Regions from separate parts of the Homo sapiens genome. Here region 1 is linked to region 2. Evidence: promoter capture Hi-C in human tissues and cell types (Jung and others, 2019). All regions are on one chromosome and are shown on one strand. The core of a region is centred on a gene start or on the middle of the fragment in contact, and the rest is flanking DNA. Distances in the headings are between cores, read along the strand shown.

Region 1 (5,498 bases), core at 518-3,017, 51 kb before region 2:
ATCCTGGGACAGCCTATATCCAGGTATTTCTCCCACCTCCTCAGTTGTAACTGGGAGACTTTGCTACAGATAGTAAGTATGCTTACCTAATCCTACATGCCCATGCTGCGATATGGAAAGAAAGGGAATTCCTAACTTCTGGGTGAACCCCCATTAAATATCACAAGGAAACTATGGAGTTATTGCACACAGTGCAAAAACCCAAGGAGGTGGCGGTCTTACATTGCCGAAGCCATCAAAAGGGGAAGGAGAGGGGAGAACTGCAGCATAAGTGGCTGGCAGAGGCAGGGAAAGACAAGCAGAAAGGAAAGAGAGAAAGAGCAGAAAGTGAGAGAGAAAGAGAGATAGGAAGTGATAGCAAAGAGGGAGTCAGAAAGAAAAGAGAGGAGAGAGAGAGGGGGAAAGACAGAGAGAGACAGAGGAAGAGACAGAGAGACAGAAAGAGAGAAGCAAAGAGAGGAAGAGACAAAGAAGGAGTCAAAGAGAGGGAAAGAGAAGTAGTAAAGAAAAAACAGTGTACCCTATTCCTTTAAAAGCCAGGTTAAATTTAAAACCTATAATTGATAATTGAAGGCCTTTTCTGTAACCCTATAATACTCCAATACCACCTTGTTGTCAGTGTAAACAAGGGTATAGCCCAAAAGCACTGAGGCCACTGACAACCCGTAGCCTTCTTATCAAAAATCCTTAACACAGCAGGTTTCCTAACAGGGAATCTAAATCTTAAGGTCGGACCAGACATAGGAGGAACTGCCTTCAGGACAGGATGATAGATGGTTCCTCCCAGGTGATTAAGGAAAAAGACACAATGGGTATTCAGTAAGTGATAAGGAAACTCTTATAGAAGCAGAGTTAGGAAAATTGCCTAATAAGTGGTCTGCTCAAACGTTGAAGCTGTTTGCTGTTTGCACTCAGCTAAACCTTAAAGTACTTACAGAATCAGGAAGGAGCCATCTATACCAATTCTAAGTTAATATGGACTGAACGAGGTTTTATTAATAGCAAAGAAAATTAAAATCTCAAACTTACAAGGTTTTCAACTAAAGTAAAGTTTGCTAAAAGTTAACAGCGTAACATGTATTATCCTACTACCACACACTCTCTCAAAGGATTTCTCAGACAGTTTGCAAAAAAGAGACGAAATCTGTCCTTACTCTACAATCCCAAATAGACTCTTTGGCAGCAGTGACTCTCCAAAACCGCTGAGGCCTAGACCTCCTCACTGCTGAGAAAGGAAGACTCTGCACCTTCTTAGGGGTAGAGTGTTGTTTTTATACTAACCAGTCAGGGATAGTATGAGATACCACCCAGTGTTTACAGGAAAAGGCTTCTGAAATCAGACAATGCCTTTCAAACTCTTATACCAACCTCTGGAGTTGGGCGACATGGCTTCTCCCCTTTCTAGGTCCTGTGACAGCCATCTTGCTAATAGTCGCATTTGGGCCCTGTATTTTTAACCTCTTGGTCAAATTTGTTTCCTCTAGGATCGAGGCCATCAAGCTACAGATGATCTTACAAATGTAACCCCAAATGAGCTCAACTAACAACTTCTGCTGAGGACCCCTGGACCGACCCGCTGGCCCTTTCAATGGCCTAAAGAGCTCCCCTCTGGAGGACACTACCACTGCAGGGCCCCTTCTTCACCCCTATCCAGCAGGAAGTAGCTACAGCGGTCATCGCCAAATCCCAACAGCAGCTGGGGTGTCCTGTTTGGAGGGGGGATTGAGAGGTGAAGCCAGCTGGGCTTCTGGGTCAGGTGGGGACTTGGAGAACTTTTGTGTCTAGCTAAAGGATTGTAAATGCACCAATCAGCACTCTGTGTCTAGCTAAAGGATTGTAAATGCACCAATCAGCACTCTGTAAAATGGACCAATCAGCAGGATGTGGGCGGGGTCAAATAAGGGAGTAAAAACTGGCCACCCGAGCCAGCAGTGGCAACCCACTCGGGTCCCCTTCCACACTGTGGAAGCTTTGTTCTTTTGCTCTTCACAATAAATCTTGCTGCTGCTCATTCTTTGTGTCCACACTACCTTTATGAGCTGTAACACTCACTGCGAGGGTCTGTGGCTTCATTCCTGAAGTCAACAGACCACGAACCCACTGGAAGGAACAAAGAACTCCCGATGTGCTGCCTTTAAGAGCTGTAACACTCACTGCGAAGCTCTGCAGCTTCACTCCTGAAGTCAGTGAGACCACAAACCCACCAGAAGGAAGAAACTCTGGACACACCTGAATATCTGAAGGAACAAACTCCAGACACACCATCTTTCAGAGCTGTAACACTCACCGCAAGGGTCTGTGGCTTCATTCTTGAAGTCAGCAAGACCAAGAACCCACCGGAAGGAACAAATTCCAGACACAGTAGGAAATCTGTATTTTTGATCTGTGGCTTTCAGGGTTACTCCAGTCATTGAAGTCTCCATTGCAGCCTTAAGGAAACAGAGAATGGTTTGGAGGAGCACATGTGGGAATTGTTATGGACCAGGCTTGAGATGCACATAGGGCATTTCTGATCAAACCTAGCTGGAAGCAGGGCCAGGAAATATAATCTAAGGAAGACAGTTTTTGTAGACAGTAGTAGTCTTTGCATCTGAGACATGTAGATTATCAAGCAATTAATTAGAAAAAATATAGCCAGGTGCGATGGCTCATGCCTGTAATCCCAGCACTTTGGGAGGCCAAGGGGTGTGGATCACGAGGTCAGGCGTTCGAGACCAGCCTGGCCAACATGGTGAAACCCCGTCTCTACTAAAAATACAAAAATTAGCCTGGTGTGGTGGCACGCATCTGTAATCCCAGTACTCAGGAGGCTGAGGCAGGGGAATCTCTTGAACTTGGGAGGCAGAGGTTGCAGTGAGCCAAGATCACACCACAGCACTCCATCCTGGGTGACAGAGCGAGACTCTGTCTCAAAAAAAAAAAAAAAAAAAGGAAAGGAAAATATAATCAAGAATATTGACAGGTAACATTTATTCAACACTTACTATGCACCAGGCAATACACTAAGTGTTTTACATGGATTAACTCATTTAATCTTAACAATAGCCCTATGAAGTCAGTGCTGTTATTATCTCCACTTTATAGATAAGGAAACTGAAGTACAGAAAGGTCAAGTAGAGAAATGGCCATGCTTGCATTCTCAGTTTTTGAAGCAACTGTTACAGGAATCTGGTGTGAGAAATGCTCTAACAAGATGTGAGTCAGGGGTTGGGAGGTACTGAGTCTGAGTTGGGCAGTTGGGGATGGAAGGATGGATGAAGAACAGCTTGACAGAGAAGCTGACACTTGGCAACTCTGTGGGACCTTGAAGGGTTAGAGGGACTTCACCAAAGAAACTGGTGGTCAGGGAAACGGGAGGGTCACGGCAAGGAGGGAAAGGAAACTGTACCACAGCAGAGAGTCTGAAGCTACTACAGTGTAGTTCAGCGTATAAAGAATAATTATTTTAAGGTAAACTTATAACCTCATGCAAATATAAAATGAACACGTGTCAAAGATCTTATTTAATTTATTAATTAATGAGGGAACCTGTAAGATGTTACAGCCAGTTCAAAGGATAATTCAAATAAATCCATGCACATATGTAGGCAATAAGGAATGCTGAAATGAATTTAAAAGTAGATGTAAACTGATTTATCCACAGAGAAATAATCAGTTGCATTTCACATAACAAAATTCAGTTGCTTTTCTACAGAAGGAATTGTTTGCATCATTACCAATTTTTCTACAACTAACAGAATTATAAAATAACTCAAACACAATGAAAGGCAGATATAACCCACAATGGTATGATAGATACAATATCCACATCCAGGATGTTTTTTTCTCATTTCAAAGTCTTTCACAAGTTTTCCTGATAAGGGAGTGTCAATAATACTGTATGGCAGGCAATAAGACTGGATGGATGGTTGGGGCCAGGTTTTAAGGGGTAATAAATGCCATGTAAAGGTATGTGCATACTGTGCAACATGTCGGGGAATCTCAAATTATTGGTAGAGTATGTAAGAAACACTTGTGGAGCTTGTTAATAAATTCAAATTCCCAGACCCAACTCCTCAAGGGTCTAATACAGTAGGTTTGGAGTAAAGCCTGAAAATCTGCAATTGTGCAAAAAAAAAACCCAGGTGATTCTGATACACTTTGAGAAGCACTGGTGGAACTAATAGTCACTGAACGTTTTTGAGCAGGGGAGAAACCTGAGGACGTCTATGTTGCAGCAGTGGAAACTTGATTAGAAGTAGGAGAAGATGCATGGTCTTAAAAGAATGCAAAATGATGGCTAATATTTGAGTGCTTATGATGGGCCAGGGGCTGTGCTAGGCGCGTGGCACACATTCAATACGATGGAAGCCTGTACCAGTCAGTATTAGTGGGGTATCTTTAAGAGTGACCAGAATTAAGGGGGGTTTTCACCAAAGCCTGAGGACTGAGCCTCCTCATCCTAAATTCAGACACAATGCTGTACCTATGCATTTGCCTCCAGGCTGTTCCTGGGCCTCCAGGGACTGGCCCAGGCTCCTGATAAATAGGGACTCCCAACAACATAAAGCCTGGATTTTGGAACTTCCTGAATGTTACTCAGGCTTTCTAGTAACTGTGGAGATCTGAATAATAACACAATTCTAAGTTCCCCTACTCATAAAGCTGCTCATCATTTAGATGGGGTAAAGCACCTGAAATACAATGAGCATCACTATTTTCATTCATCCATGAAATGAACATTCCGGGGAGATCAGTAAGTTGATGTATCACCCTTGAACAGGGCAAAATGAATACTCACCAGGAATATGTGGTATTTTAAAAAGAAGGCAAAGGGAAGAACAGTGGGGATGGGGCAAAAACTTTAAATAGATTCCCCCAATCATATATGGCAATTGAAGATAATTAAATTATCATTTTAATTGAGTAAGTACTCATAGAGCCCTCACTATTTGAAAATGAACTGCCTCCTAATTGTTATTGTGCAAATGTGATACATTAAACTTAAGCTATTTTAATAAAACATCCATTTTCGGAAGCTGTAGTAGGTTCTCCCAGGTCAGATTTGATAAGCCATAAAGAACAAATGCCAACTCCTATTTTTCTATGGTGCTGGGAAATAAGAGAGAAATGTGTAATTCAAAGCAATCATTTAATTTTATCCAATAGCTTGATTCTCCTCTCTCTTCTAGCCTTTTAGCTAAGCTGTTACCAAGTAACCACACTAGTTGGCTTGAGTCTTACCACTGTTTCCCTGACCCCACAGTGGAGAGACTGCATCTGTTAAAGAGCAGTTATGTAACCATGGCTATGCTGAGCTGGGATTCCCAAGGCTTAGGTTCTTTCTGTGAATGACCTTCACCAAGACACCTGAGGTCTGTGTGGAACCACAGGCTTGTCATCTCTAAGGCAGAGTTGATAATTCCATCTGTTTCTTGAGCCCACACTGAGAAAAAGATTACATGACTGCAGTTATTTGAATGCCTCATGGAAAGACGTCTTATAAATATTATAATTAA
Region 2 (5,647 bases), core at 430-2,929:
TGATTTGTTCTGTATGCCAACGAGAATCGTGGTTTTCCTTTTGCTCTTTTCCTTGCGAAGGAGCCAACTCCTTCTGGATCTTTGTTTTTATTTTTTCCTCCTTAAGTCACTGCTGAGGTATTTTTAAACCAAGCCAACACGTATATTTTATTCACCGAAGGAAGAACAAAGCATCTGCTAATAGAAGCAGTGAAAAAAGCACAGCAGTCAGAGGCCTCGTGTCTAAAGCTCAGTTCATTACTCCTAACCTGCCATTGGCCAATATTTCAACCTTTCTGAGTTGCTCTTTCTCATCTGCAAAATGGGGTTAATGGAGGATTTCATCTGCAAGTGGGGATAAGAGACATGAAAAGAACTGACGCGAAATAAACACGAGTTGAATCCTAACAATAATATTTTGACTATGTAGTTACAACAAACTTTTCTTTCTTCTTTTTTTTTTTTTCTGTGAGAAGTGCCTTTGGTGGATTTTGAATTCTTTTTCATACTGCCTGTTCTTTGGTGGGACTCCAGCAACATTGCTGTAACTCGAGGATATATGGCTGCAATGTGTGTTTGGCTTCCTTTCTCAAGGGGGTCAAATAAAAAGGCAACTGTTTAGAGAAGGCACCAAAGTACAAAACAAAAATCTCAGAATATGCCAGCCAATCTTGGAAAGTCATCTGAAGAAGAAAAAGTGCTGCTGAGGAAGGAAAACGGCCCTTTTGTGGGCATCACTTCTGCTCTTCTGAAAAAAAGCCCCGATGCTGCAATATTTTTCAAGGCAGAATATCGTCCCAGATGGAGGAGGGAGCACTGACAAGCAGAAAAGGAGAGACGTGCGGTTTCGAGGCAGCGTCTGTAAGGGGTGGAGAGCGCGGGGCTCGGAGCCTCGCAGTTCTTTGTTGGGGGCGCGGGCTTCGTTATTCCCGAGGCAGCAATGGCTCCCCCTCGGAGGTCCCTCCGCGGAGACCGCCTCGCGCCTCTCGCAGTCCCCAATCCCCGCCCCTCCCAGCCCTCGCTGACCCCACAACGTGGTCGGACTGCGGTGCCTTTAAGGCTTTTGCCTGCTGCACATGCTCAGCTCTTTGTGTGTTGTTGGAGTTTTTCTCTCTTAAGAGAAAAAGAAGAAATAGGCAGGAGGATGGGGCGGAGGAAGGGGGAAGCGCTAGGGAAAAAGCGTTGCACTTTTGCAGCTGCAGACGGCGGACGGGAAGGACTTCTTTTCTGCTGAAGCTGCGAAGCCTGTGTCGATCTCTCATTCGTGGGGCTCCCGGGGCGCGGGGTGCGGGTGGGGCCGGGGTGCCCGCACCGGCCGGGGGGAAGGGCACGCGGGCCACACCTGGGGGGCCTGTCTCCAGTCAGCGCGCGGGCCAGGCGGGGTGGGCGCGCGCGCGTGGGGGAGTCCCCGGTCCCTGTCAGGGGCGGGGCGAGACCAAGGCGCCGGGCCTGTGGGGAGGAGTGTAGGCGCGCGCGAGGGCGGGGGGCGGCCCCACGCATCGTGGGCTCCCGGCGCTGCCGCTGCGGCCGGCTCGAGGCACCGGAGACAGAATGGCTGCCGGGGCGCCCTTGACCGCCGGGCGGGCGAGGCGGGGCTGACCGCCGCCTCCTTGATCGCCCCCTTCCACGTTGGGCGCGCCCACTTCGGGGCGCCCGCTCGGCCCCCGCCCTCCTGGGCGCGCGGCGCTCGGAGCCGAGGCAGTTGGCGCGGGCCGCGGGCGAGGCGGGGCCGCGCGCGGGGTCCCCTCCTCCTGCCGGTCAGGTCCCCTCAGGAGCGCCGGGCGCAGTCTGCGCCTCCCGCTCCCCGCCTCCGGCCGGGTCCGGGACGCCGCGGCTGTGGGGTCGGCCCGCTAAGGACAAGGTCGGGAGACTGGGTGGCGATGCCCGAGTGCGACTGGAGGCAGCCGAGCGGAGGCGACGGCGGTTGGGATCTGTCCCTCCTGACCGGGGAGCGGGACTCGGACGGGCGCCGGTGAGGAGGAGGAGAAGCGGCGGCGGAGAGGTTTTCTGCGGCCGGAATTCCCTTCAACAGCATCCCTGTCGGCGCCCGCGAGCGCAGTCTCGCCGGGCAGGGGCGCCGGGGAAGATGGAGACTGGGGGCCGGGCCCGCACTGGTACCCCGCAGCCAGCGGCCCCGGGGGTGTGGAGGGCTCGGCCGGCGGGCGGCGGCGGCGGGGGCGCCTCCTCCTGGCTGCTGGACGGGAACAGCTGGCTGCTGTGCTATGGCTTCCTCTACCTGGCGCTCTACGCGCAGGTGTCCCAGTCCAAGCCGTGCGAGAGGACCGGCTCCTGCTTCTCGGGCCGCTGTGTCAACTCCACCTGCCTCTGCGACCCGGGCTGGGTGGGGGACCAGTGCCAGCACTGCCAGGGCAGGTTCAAGTAAGTGCCTTCGCCGGACCCCGAACCTCCAGCCCTGCCTCGCTCCCGTCGCGGCCTTCCCCGCCCCCCTCGCGGCCTCCCCCGCCCCCGTCGCTGCCTCTGATCCCCCGGCCGTGAGTGAACCTCAGCGCGCGGCGGGAGCGGGCGAGAGTGGGGCCCGCGCCGCGCCCCCTCCAGCCCCGGGGCGCCCCGGGAGAGCTCGGGCCCGCGCGGAGCCCTGACCAACGGGGAGCTAGGCATTTCTCGAGCGTTCCAGATGTCCGCAGCGACTTCTGATCCGCTGCTCAGCACGAACATTTTCACAATCAGTTATGATGCCCAGCACCATTTTCTTGGGATAATATTTAAAAATCAGAAATTGTCCAAGTTACTTATGAAATACATGCGCATTGTGAAAAATTCACAAAAGTGTAAAGGTTCAGTTATGATCTATGAGTGCCTCTCTCTTTCCCCATTCTCTTCTCTCTAGAGGTGACCCCTTCTAACATTTATTTAGTCATCATAGTGATGTTAATAAGTAGAGTTTATGATGGACTTGCTAAGTGCCAAACACTCTTCTAAGCGCTTTATGTCAATTTTCTCATTTATTCCCTACAACAACTCTGTGAGTTGCTAGAATTATTATGCTGGATTTACGGAGAGAAATCGAGGCGATACATTGAAGTAACTTGGCCAGGATTACACAGTAGTAAGGGCCGAGTTATGATTCCAAATCAGCTGGCACATTCTGGAGCCAGTACACACTCCAGAATGTGTACTTTTAACGAATTTGCTGTGTTGTATTTGCTAGGACAATCTTGAATTGAGAAATACAAAGGTGACTTTAGGTTAGATAGAAGGACGTTTTTATGTGGTGAGGATAATGGATTTTTTTCTGATCGGTTAATTCACTGTCAGCTTTTGTGCGGGAACATCGCTTTGGCTTGTTTGAAGCTCAAGGAGCCTAAGAAGTTTGCTTGCTAAGGTGAAGGTACTTTCTTCGTACTGGTTGGTGTTTATTACATTCTTGCCTGATATAAAAAGCAATGGGTCACAGTGTAGGGGAGTAGCAAAAGTCACTTAATATTGGGGCAGGCTTCTAACAACATGCAGGTAACAGTCATTAAGAAAGTCAGCTTCTTAGTCTTCTAGATACTTAATATGAAGTTTGCTGGCTGGTTTGTGGCTCTTGAATATTGTAGATTACTGATATTGTTAGGCTGATAGCCAAAATCTAGGTGAAATTTCTCTTGGGCTCTAAGGCAAAGGTAAGACTGGTTCACCTTATTAATGTATTCTAGGACAATTTCCTGGAATTTTAAACACAGCATACTTTCCTTTTTTTTTTTTTTTAAAAAAAAACTTACTATTACTGATTAAAATAAATGTCCCTTAAAACTCAATGTAAAAATGTATATTTTTAAAATGGCACTTTAAAATTTTAGGTAGAGTCTATGATTTAAATTAACTAGTAGGTTTTGGAAGTGAAATCTTAAAGTGAAGTTTTATGAAACTTATGCAATAGGTTGAAATTTTTCTAGGGTTTATACTTTAAAGGTAGTATAGTAATGTAGTTTTAAAAATACTTTTTAAAAAAATTAGGAGAGATGCTGATTAAAAGTTTAAAAAGTGTTTCAAGATGAGGAAAGAGATCTTAATGAATTCTGCTTGTTAGTTGTTTTTTTTTGCTTGTGTTCTTAAACGTTTGCTATGACAGTAGAATTCAGCGTCTTTACCTAGCAAGAGAGAATTTTGAACATGTAAACTGGTAGTCAGCAGTGAAAAAGCCTCATCCATTTTTTACATTTTTTTTACATAAATAGGGAGAGTGCCTGATTTATATGTAGGGATATTGGCTTTTGTGTGGGTGGGTTTGCTCCGTTTGTCTAAAGAGGACAAAATTTGCTGCAGTCCTGAGAAGCTTCATTTTAAAGTAGCGGAACTTGTTAATCAGCTGGATCAGCAGCCTGTGACCTCACTAGCAGATGTTGTCCCAGTTAAAAAGATCACAGATCAAGTTAAAACTAGCTTAAATAACATTGAGAGGTGGTGTTCATAAACAAAATACATTAGTGAGTAGAAGAAGAATAGATATTTGATGTAGATATTGTTAAATAACAATAAATCCTGAGCTAATCACTGAGTATTCATCTTTTCCTTGGAAGCTATTATTTCCTAGGACTCATTGTACTCTATTGGGTAAATGCTTTTGCATTTCTCTGTGGAATACAAGCTATTAATTAGAGTAAATATAACTGGTGTAACGATCTGTGTTTTTATTATGTATACTCTTGGGGATAAAGAACACATTGGTATTTAATGTTAAAGAGAAGGATTATGTATAGTAGAAAAGAATTCTTCTTGGTAAAGTACATGCAAATAAACCTATGAAAGGTTTATTTGAAGATAGTAGCTTGTTTTACCTGGCATTTGAAGTAATAACACAGTGGGAAAGGCTTTAACTAGAAAATCTCACTTCACTAACTATCTTGAAAATCTTTTTCTAAACTGAAGGATAGCAACCTTACAAACAGACATTAAAAATGATTGATCAATCTTGGTAAGCAGGTGTCAAAATTAATTGGTTGGCTCCATGGTAACTTAGCTTTTTTTCTACTATAGGGATTTCGCCAGGGAATAAAAATGTTCTTCAAATGTTTCTTGAGGATAGAAGATTGATAGTTGGGGGAAGAAATGCAGAAGCAAATATAGTATCAAAAGTGGTACTTCAGTTCTCTTAGCATTGATTCCAGTCTTCTGTTTCCATTTGAAAAGAATAAAGCACTCAGAATAACAAGCCATTCCTTCCTTACACAGGTAAAACAAAAGGAACATTGATTTTTCACCCAAAGCTAGACTAAAGGACTTGGGATTGAGAATAGGAAAATATATTTGAAATATAATAATCAAAGATACAGACTCTAATTCAAGTTGTATTTATTTGAATAGTTCAGTGTAATGTTAAGCAAGAAAATATTCTGCTATAATCTATTTGAATGACGTTCTCTTTTAGAAGGGAGCCCTTGAGAATTAATTTTGTAGAGTAGAGATTTATATAAATTTATATAAATATAAAGAGTATTGCTCTTTATATTAGTCAAATATAAAGGGGTATATTTTTACCCCTCTTAGGTTAGTCAAATTTGGATACTTCATTTCACGCATTTAAAATGGAAGTATGCTGGGTGCCGTGGCTCAGGCCTGTAATCCCAGCACTTTGGGAGGCCGAGGTGGAAGGATCCCTTGAGCCCAGAAGTTTGAGACCAGTCTGGGCAAGATAGTGAGACCTCATCTCTACAAAAAATATTTT

The links. Contacts are between HindIII fragments. The study calls those that stand out against the background at their distance.
Region 1: a fragment that was not itself captured here is called in contact with the fragment with the promoter of ATRNL1 in region 2 in 2 of the 25 tissues and cell types used here (H1 embryonic stem cells and pancreas).

What each region holds. Positions count from the first base shown.
Region 1 is chr10:115,040,412-115,045,909 of GRCh38, forward strand. All of the region lies in intron 2 of LOC107984272 (a long non-coding RNA gene), which reads left to right. Among named protein-coding and RNA genes, the nearest start is that of LINC02626, 49 kb to the left of the region's middle. The HindIII fragment of the contact is 7,889 bases long and covers 1-5,498 here.
Region 2 is chr10:115,091,686-115,097,332 of GRCh38, forward strand. It overlaps ATRNL1 (attractin like 1), which reads left to right and starts at 1,680. Exons shown (of 29, transcript NM_207303.4): 1 at 1,680-2,358. The coding sequence starts at 2,066. RefSeq lists silencers at 1,211-1,720, 1,751-1,880, 1,971-2,250. The HindIII fragment of the contact is 15,819 bases long and covers 1-5,647 here.